Linked DNA regions of Homo sapiens: region 2 is linked to region 1. Evidence: promoter capture Hi-C in 16 types of primary human blood cells and fetal thymus (Javierre and others, 2016). All regions are on one chromosome and are shown on one strand. Each heading gives the region's core, a stretch centred on a gene start or on the middle of the fragment in contact. The rest is flanking DNA. Distances are from core to core; before and after follow the strand shown. Region 1 holds the start of MSANTD2 (Myb/SANT DNA binding domain containing 2). Region 2 overlaps ZNF202 (zinc finger protein 202).

Evidence for each region. The method cuts DNA at HindIII sites, captures the fragments that hold promoters and counts their contacts. A CHiCAGO score of 5 or more calls a contact.
Region 2: a fragment that was not itself captured here is called in contact with the fragment with the promoter of MSANTD2 in region 1 in 1 of 17 cell types (total B cells); the score reaches 5.7 in total B cells.

The regions. Positions count from the first base shown.
Region 1 is chr11:124,798,545-124,802,377 of GRCh38, reverse strand. MSANTD2 (Myb/SANT DNA binding domain containing 2) reads left to right here and starts at 1,972. Exons shown (of 4, transcript NM_001308027.2): 1 at 1,972-2,507. The coding sequence starts at 1,998. MSANTD2-AS1 (MSANTD2 antisense RNA 1) reads right to left here and starts at 1,950. Exons shown (of 5, transcript NR_103862.1): 1 at 1,122-1,950; 2 at 221-394. RefSeq lists silencers at 1,620-2,289, 2,330-2,569, 2,970-3,049, 3,280-3,329 and an enhancer at 1,786-2,393. The HindIII fragment of the contact is 4,637 bases long and covers 1-3,833 here.
Region 2 is chr11:123,732,025-123,735,857 of GRCh38, reverse strand. All of the region lies in intron 3 of ZNF202 (zinc finger protein 202), which reads left to right. Among named protein-coding and RNA genes, the nearest start is that of ZNF202, 7.7 kb to the left of the region's middle. The HindIII fragment of the contact is 2,341 bases long and covers 738-3,078 here.

The sequences.
Region 1 (3,833 bases), core at 723-3,222:
ACACACACACACACACACACACACCCCTCTTTGGAATCTCTGATTTAGTATATGATTTAGGCACAACTCTCCCTTTCATACACACCAAATACCTTATGACATTAAAACATTTATCACTGGGCTGAATGAGAGTTAATTTTGTTTTGATAGATGTTTCAGATTCTTTTACAGTCCTCACACAATGTTTACTGTGAACCAGGCACCGTTCTAAGGACTTTACCTGTATTAATTCTCTCAACAATGCTGTGACGTCATCCTCATTTTACAGATGAAGAAAACAAGGCACTGAGAGCTTGGTTAAGTAACTTTGCTGAGGTCGCAGAACTGGAATTTGAAGCCTGGCAGTCTGACTTTAGAGTCCATATTCTTAACTGAGGTGCTAGACTGCATCTTTCTTTGGAAAAAAGGGAAGAGGATATCATAAATTCGGGAACTTCCTCAGGCTTCTTCTGTTAGCTTACAAACTATGGTTAGCATTTTCATATGACATACGAGAACAATTATCTCCTCCTCTACTTTATCCCTATTGCTTAATCCTTTGGCTTTTCAGTAACACCCAAAGACAACCAGTCATTCTCTCCAGTGAGTCTCAGAGTTAAAAATTTAGCTGTCTTCAATAAGAATGATACATTGGACTTTGGGGACTCGGGAGCTCAGGGGTAAGGGGAAGGCTAATGAGGGACAAAAGACTACACATTGGATACAGTGTACATTGCTCGGACGCACCAAAATCTCAGAAATCACCACTAAAAACCTTATTCATGTAACCAAACGCCACCTGTTACCCCCAAAAATCGATTGAAATAAAACAATAATTTAAAAAAGCACATACCCCCCAAAACATAGTTGACCTCAGCTTAAAAAAAACTAACATACATTTGTTATTTTAAAAAATATTGCATAGTTTATTTGCATTCATTGGTCAGCATCCTCAGTTATGTCTGCTTTGAAAGAAAAATCCGCTGAGGTTTTAAGTTAATGATCCAAGATATCCAATTAAGATTTTCAGCTTTGAAAAATATGGAAATACGGTACAGCTGTGTACTGGATGTGCTGTGCTACTGTTAAGTTCCAGCACTTTAAGGAACGTTTCAGGAGTGACTAATACACTAATTCATTACCAGAGGTCACAGAGCTGTCATAATTGACAGTGTTCTTTGAGTACGAAAAACCGGAAAACGATGCAACTTCCAAAGCACGGAGGATGGAGACTGGTATTGGAAAGTAACTTTTCTGCTGGGCTCAGGAGTTTTTATATGCTCAAGCTATAGACAACTGTACCAACGCAATAGACTAATGTAATCTAACTATTCTACAAACGGCCACACCTACCCAGACTAACTGGAAAACAATAGTTTATAACTGGAATTAAATAGTTGCTGTTCTTTAATTAATGAGATCGGTGTTCTTGAAAAGCTACAGCGTACGAACTCTACCCTGGTCCATATCTGCTTTTTAAAGCCTTCCCCAGAACCGCTCTCACTTCAGCCTTGGTGCCTTCCCGGATATACCCTCCAGAGGCTTCCCCGGTCCCCATCCTGGACGTCAGCCTCTGCACCTAGAGGCCGGCTTAGAGGGAAGACGGGCAGAGGCGGGGGAGACAGGAGAGAGAGAAACGGTCTATTCCTCCTTAACTCCGGGCCCCCTCGAGGGCCTCACCCCTCCTCCCGGGGGCTGAGATTGGAGAGGAAGTGGGAAGGCTCCAATCTGTTCCTCACTCCAGCGCCCTCATGCCCCCACCCTTCTCTTCAGCTCGGGGCTTCGGCGCGCCTCGTCCCCGCCCTTCGCCCCGGGAGAGGAGCGGGCGGCGTGGGAGGGCTCGCGGAGAAAGGCCCAGGGGAGTGGACGACCTCCGCCCGGCAGCCACATCCTCAGCAGCAGAGACCCGGAGCCATCCGCCCGCGGGCGAGCCAGGCCCGAGGGCAGCCCCGGAGACCGCGGTGGCCGGATGCGCGGGCGCGTCACTTCCGGGCGGTGCAGCGGCGGCCGCTTGGAAGATGGCTGCGCCCTGTGGCTCGGAGCTGCCCGCCAACTCGCCGCTAAAAATTCCGAAGATGGAGGTGCTTTCCCCGGCTTCTCCTGGTGGCCTGAGCGACGGAAATCCATCGCTGTCCGACCCTTCCACGCCTCGGGGTGCCTCCCCGCTCGGGCCGGGCAGTGCGGCGGGCTCGGGGGCAGCGGCGTCCGGGGGTCTCGGGCTGGGGCTGGGGGGCCGCAGCGCCGCCTCGTCCTCGGTCTCCTTCTCCCCTGGTGGCGGCGGTGGCGGGGCTGCGGCAGCCGCCGCCGCCGCCTGCCGGGGCATGTCGTGGACGCCAGCCGAGACGAACGCGCTCATCGCAGTGTGGGGCAACGAGCGGCTGGTGGAGGCGCGGTACCAGCAGCTGGAGGGAGCCGGCACGGTGTTCGGCAGCAAGGCCCCCGGGCCAGCCATGTACGAGCGCGTGTCCCGGGCCCTGGCCGAGCTGGGCTACGAGCGGACCCCGTCCCAGTGCCGGGAGCGCATCAAGGTAACCGGCCGCCCGGCCTGGGGCAGCGAACCAGAGGCAGAGAGAAGGCGGGGAAGCGGGCCTCGGGGGCGGGGGCCGGTCTGAGGGCAGGGCTCTCCTCCGGGGCCCGGTGGGCGATTCGCATCTCCTCCGCCTTTTTCTTCTCTCCCTGGGAAGGGGGCTTTTTCCCAGATGGCCGCCAGCCCGTAGGTTTCCTGAGTTTGAAGTTGGGCGTGCCTGCCGCCGCCCCTCTTTCTTGCCAATTGAGATGTTCCTGCGCTCTGAAGTTGGTAGTTTCTCATTGTGCGCCGTGCGGCAGTCCCCGTGCCGCTGGCGCCTCTTGCCCCCACCGCCGGGGCCCCTCGCTTTGTTCCAGGCGGAGGGGCTCCCAGGCAGAGGCTTACCGGCCGGGGCAGGATTGAGGAAGGGCAGAAGGGGGGGGCATTGAGCCCCTAGTTTAGGAATAGTTAATAAGTGGCCGTAGCGGAGCCATAGAAAAAGCGCCTTGGGACGACTGGCCTTTGTGTCAGTCGCTTTGCTTCTATCTTGAGCTACGAAGGACGAGTAAGACTAGAGATGCTTTGGAGAATTGGAAAGGCTTGATTGTAGCCAGATTGTGTATTGTTACCGCGGAGTTAGTGTACACCATAAAAGTTAGCTTGGCCAAGAGTTGGTCTGGAATTTGGATTGTCGATGCCTCCAGAGTTAGATTGGCTTGAGGCCCTGCGGTTTCTTAGGAAGCTCCTTCAGGAAAGCCAGTTTTTCCCTGCTTCAGTTTCTGTGCCGGATGTGGTGACAAGTAGAACTCTCAGTGTGCATCTGGCCGTCCTTGTGTACCTGCATGTTTAAATGCAGAGGCTTAATTTGGGCTAGAAATCTTAGCCAGGTTAAGATTTTGCTACTAGAACTGACTCTAGGCTTTCATATTTGTATTATTGGCAGATAAGGAGTTGTATTTTAGTTAAGCTCATTTCCTCATCGTAGTGGCTGCTAAAAAGATTGTGATAGGATTCTCCCAGTTTTTACTGAACTACTTATCCTATTATCTGTGCACTTCTTTTCTGATACAGCTGGCACTTTTTCTGGGAACTTCTTGAGGGGGGATAAAAACCACCAAGAACAATTATAAAATAAGAATGATCACACTAAAGAGCAATAATAAAGTCTAATAGGCGCAATCATGAGTTAGAGTAAGCTAAAGGAGGGAAATTGCACCAAAGTTCTCCAGGTCTTGGCTCCAGTAGTATTTCTTTGGGGATGTTGTTGCTTAGAAAACTGGGTCCACAAACTAAGATATTTAAAACCTACTATTGTTCAAGGAATTTGCCACCCATTAATTACTCCATT
Region 2 (3,833 bases), core at 659-3,158, 1.1 Mb after region 1:
CAAGGTATACTTATGGCATAGCACATCCCATTAATTATAGAATAAAAACACAACATCTGTTTTCTGCCTCTAATATTAAATCTTGACATTTGCACAACACATTTTAGTTCATAAAGCTCTCATATCTCAGATAATCACTGAGTTAGGAGACTGGTTATCTGCAGAGGGCTTTATCCTTTACAAGGGCTCTTGGGTACGTTACTTCACGAAACCCTCAGGGAAGCTCCAGTTTCTTGGGGATCTGGGGCCGGGGCATATGTCTTTGGATACCCAGTTTGGTGCTGTGCACAGCACTGCTGTACCTCCTATTCATTTCCCATCTCTTACCCCACAAAGACTCCTTCCTTCATTCCTTCTATTGCTGATCTGTTTTCCTTCATCTTCCTAGGCTGCCAAAGTAAATGCAAAACAAGCACCAGAAATCTCAGCTTGTGATTTCTGAAGGGCATTTTTAAATGGCAAGTTTGGTGTGGCACTGTTACATGTTCTTTTTTCTTTGGAGAGCAAAGCCCTTTGAGAGAGCAGGAACTCTTCTGTCAATGCATACGTTGTAGGATCCATACTGTGGAATCTCTTGTACCTAGTGCTGCGTGAAAACAATGAGGATTCCAAGTCTACTTCACTGGACGTCGGTTCTCAAACTTTTAAGATACTAGAAGTCCTTTTATTAAGCCAAAAGACCCTATGTATTAATTCTGTCTTCCAGGGGTAGGAGTTGGGGTGGGGTTTGGAAAGCTTTGTCTGGATAAATAATTAGTATTGTAGTTCCATTTATTTGATGTCTGATTTTGCGCTTATTAAAATTGATTTAAATCCTCAATGGAAAATGATTTTTTTTTTTTCAAATGCCAAGTGTTGTGTGACTTGCATTTGGATTATTCCCGGTGCAACCTGAAGATTCCTTGTGATGAGTTGTGGTTCCATCATCTTGGGAACCACTAAGAGAATTCTGTTTTACTCACAATCCAAACAATAAATGTTTTTTTCCCTATGTATGCCTTTATCCAGCACACAGTTTGCTAGACTTATGGATGAATATGGGTTAATATAACATGGTATCTATCCTTCTGGAAACAGACTTTTAAAACCTTACTAAGCATTCTCTGCATTCATCAAATGTGAAGTGAGTGCCTGGTGTGTGCCAGGCATCGAGCTGGGCACAGCATATCCCTGCCCTCAGAGCTTTACAGTCCAGTGAGTTCAACAGAAGATGAACAGTTTTGATGACACAAAAAATAGACACATGTGCATGCTGTGATAGGGGGAGATACAAGTTCCTGTGGAAGCATCATCTGGGAGGACCAGGGAAGGCATCTTGGAAAAACTGAGCTCTGAAAGATGGATAGAGTTAACCACATGAAGAGTGGAGAAGGGTACTTCAGACAAGGTGAACAGCATCAGGAAAGCCCAGGGAGGGTATAGAAAAGAAAGAACAGTAATTCTTGCAGTGGCTTTCAATGGGAGTGGCAGTCATGGAAGGAAGGAGAGGTAGCAGGGACCAGCTTTTGAAGGTCTTTGTGTATCACATTTTAAGAAGTTTAAATTTTAACCTAAGGTCACTGGGAAGCCATTGGCAGATTTTGTATGTTAGGAAGTTCACCACTCACCTACTTGGAGTATTGCAGGTGGAGCTAATGTGGATGGGCCTCCTGCCCATTATTAAATCCTGTTCCTGTCAGGAACAGGACAGCCCATGCTGTCTCTCCCTGTGTGTCTGTCTCTCCCTGTGTGTCTGTCTCTCTCTCTCTCTCTGTCTCTCTCTCTCAAAAGCTAAAGGAAAGCGCATAGGTTCCAGAAGGAAAAAGAAATAACCACTAGAAAAATAAGTATAAGCTGACTTTACCATGGCGCAGTGAGATTCCAAACCAAAATAAGGTTTCTAGGGATTGAGCTTTTAATACTGGTACTCCAACAGGGAGATAGGACTTGGGAAGCTGACGCTGTGTGAAAGTTACAGAATTAAGCAGCCTGCAAACCTGGACCTTTGAAAATCGTCCTACTGACCCAGGAAAAGTGCAAGGAAGTGGGTTCTCCAGAACCTTGGGTAGGCCAAACATTACTTGAAGGCATCGATCTAAATAATACACAAAAGCATTATTCAGGAACACCCTGAGAAATTAACATAAAAACTGATTTGGCCAGGCATGGTGGCTCAGCCTCTGGTAACAGTGCTTTGGGAGGCCAAGGTTGGAAAATCACTTGAGGCCAGGAGATCCAGGCTGTAGTGAGCTATGATTGTACTACTGCACTCCAGCCTGGGCAACAGAGGGAGAGTCTTAAAAAAGCAAACTGTCCAAGATCATTGAAACCATTAGCACTTAGGAAGAAACAAATGAAATTACATTCAAGGGGCTCACATTTAAATCCAGGGCTCTCAGGACTCCCAAAGTAAAAAGATGGACATAAAATAAAAAAATTACAAGCCACTTGAGAAAAAAATAAATCACCATGAGGTAGAGATAGCAGAGGAAAAATTACACATGAAGATCTAGGAATTAGGGAGCTATCCAAGATAGACTGTGAAAGTATGTTGCAAGTGACTGAGGGTAATGAAAAAAATGTCATAAGAGCATGAATTAGAAGCGTTTTGAGAAAGAATGAAGATAATGTGATCATTGACTGTAAACTCATTTGATGGGCAACAATAGATGAGACACAGCTATTAAGAGTGGATCGATAACCTTGAATGTGGATGTGAGGCAACTGTAGTATAGCACAAAAAGGTTGAGAAATGATGGAGCCCTTAAGCTGCTTGTGGACACTGGTCTGGAGGGGGACAGGACCAAGAAAACCAGTCATGGAGGTTGAACTAAGTCATCTCTCCAATGTATCCGTGCCTGTTACGTGCCAGTGCCGTTTAGGAGCAGAGGATATTGTAATTTTTTTTAAAGTTCCTATGAATACCTTCTAGTGGGTCATAATGGCTCAACCGGGAAATGGCAGTAGAGATGAAGAGATGGATGGATTCGAAAGACATTTTTTGGAAGTTGGAATTAACAGGATATGGTGAATAATCAAGAGATAGTAAAAGCATAATGGAGGAAACAATGGTTCTTCCTGTTACCATAGGAAGAAGCTTTGGAGTAGAGTTTTATTCATTTTAAATGCATTTATTGTGCACTTTATTATAGGTATTGGAGATTGATGGAAAATAGTCTCTGACCTCAAAGAGTTTCACAGGAAAGATGAGCGATGGCTATGTAATATGACCAATACTGGGATAGAGAGGTGCCCAGGTCACTACGGGAGGACTTAGGTGATTTCTAACTATGTCTGAGAGTAGGGGAAATGGGATCAAAGAAAACATCTCAGAAGACATGAAGCTTGAGCTTATGTCTTGAAAAATTTAAAGTTTAACCTAACCAAGGATAAAGAATCAGAAGAAACAGCATATTCAAAAGCTAAAGAACACGGGACTCTTGTGTGCTTTGCATGTACACACGTGTGTGCGTGTGTGTCTGAAAGGATTGGAGAGGAGGGCGAAGAGAATAACAAGATGAACGTCAACCTAATGTAGAATGTTTGAAGTTTGTATTTCACTTAACAAGACAGCGGGGAGTGATGGAAGGATCTTAGATAGGAAAGGGACATGAGCACGTTTGCCAAGAGAGCTCGTTCTGATCATAGTGGGTACGTGAAGGTGACAAATCTGGAGGCAGATAGCTCACATTTGGAGGCAGTTGCAGTCATCCAGATGAGAAGTGAGAGGGACCTAAGCTGTAAATTGTGGGAATAAAGACAAGACCCGTTAAAAAGAAAGAGAACACACCATGTAGCGTGGAAAGGAGAAGGGTGGAGAGTAGCCTGTGCAGAAGGAACAACCTTCAAAAAGA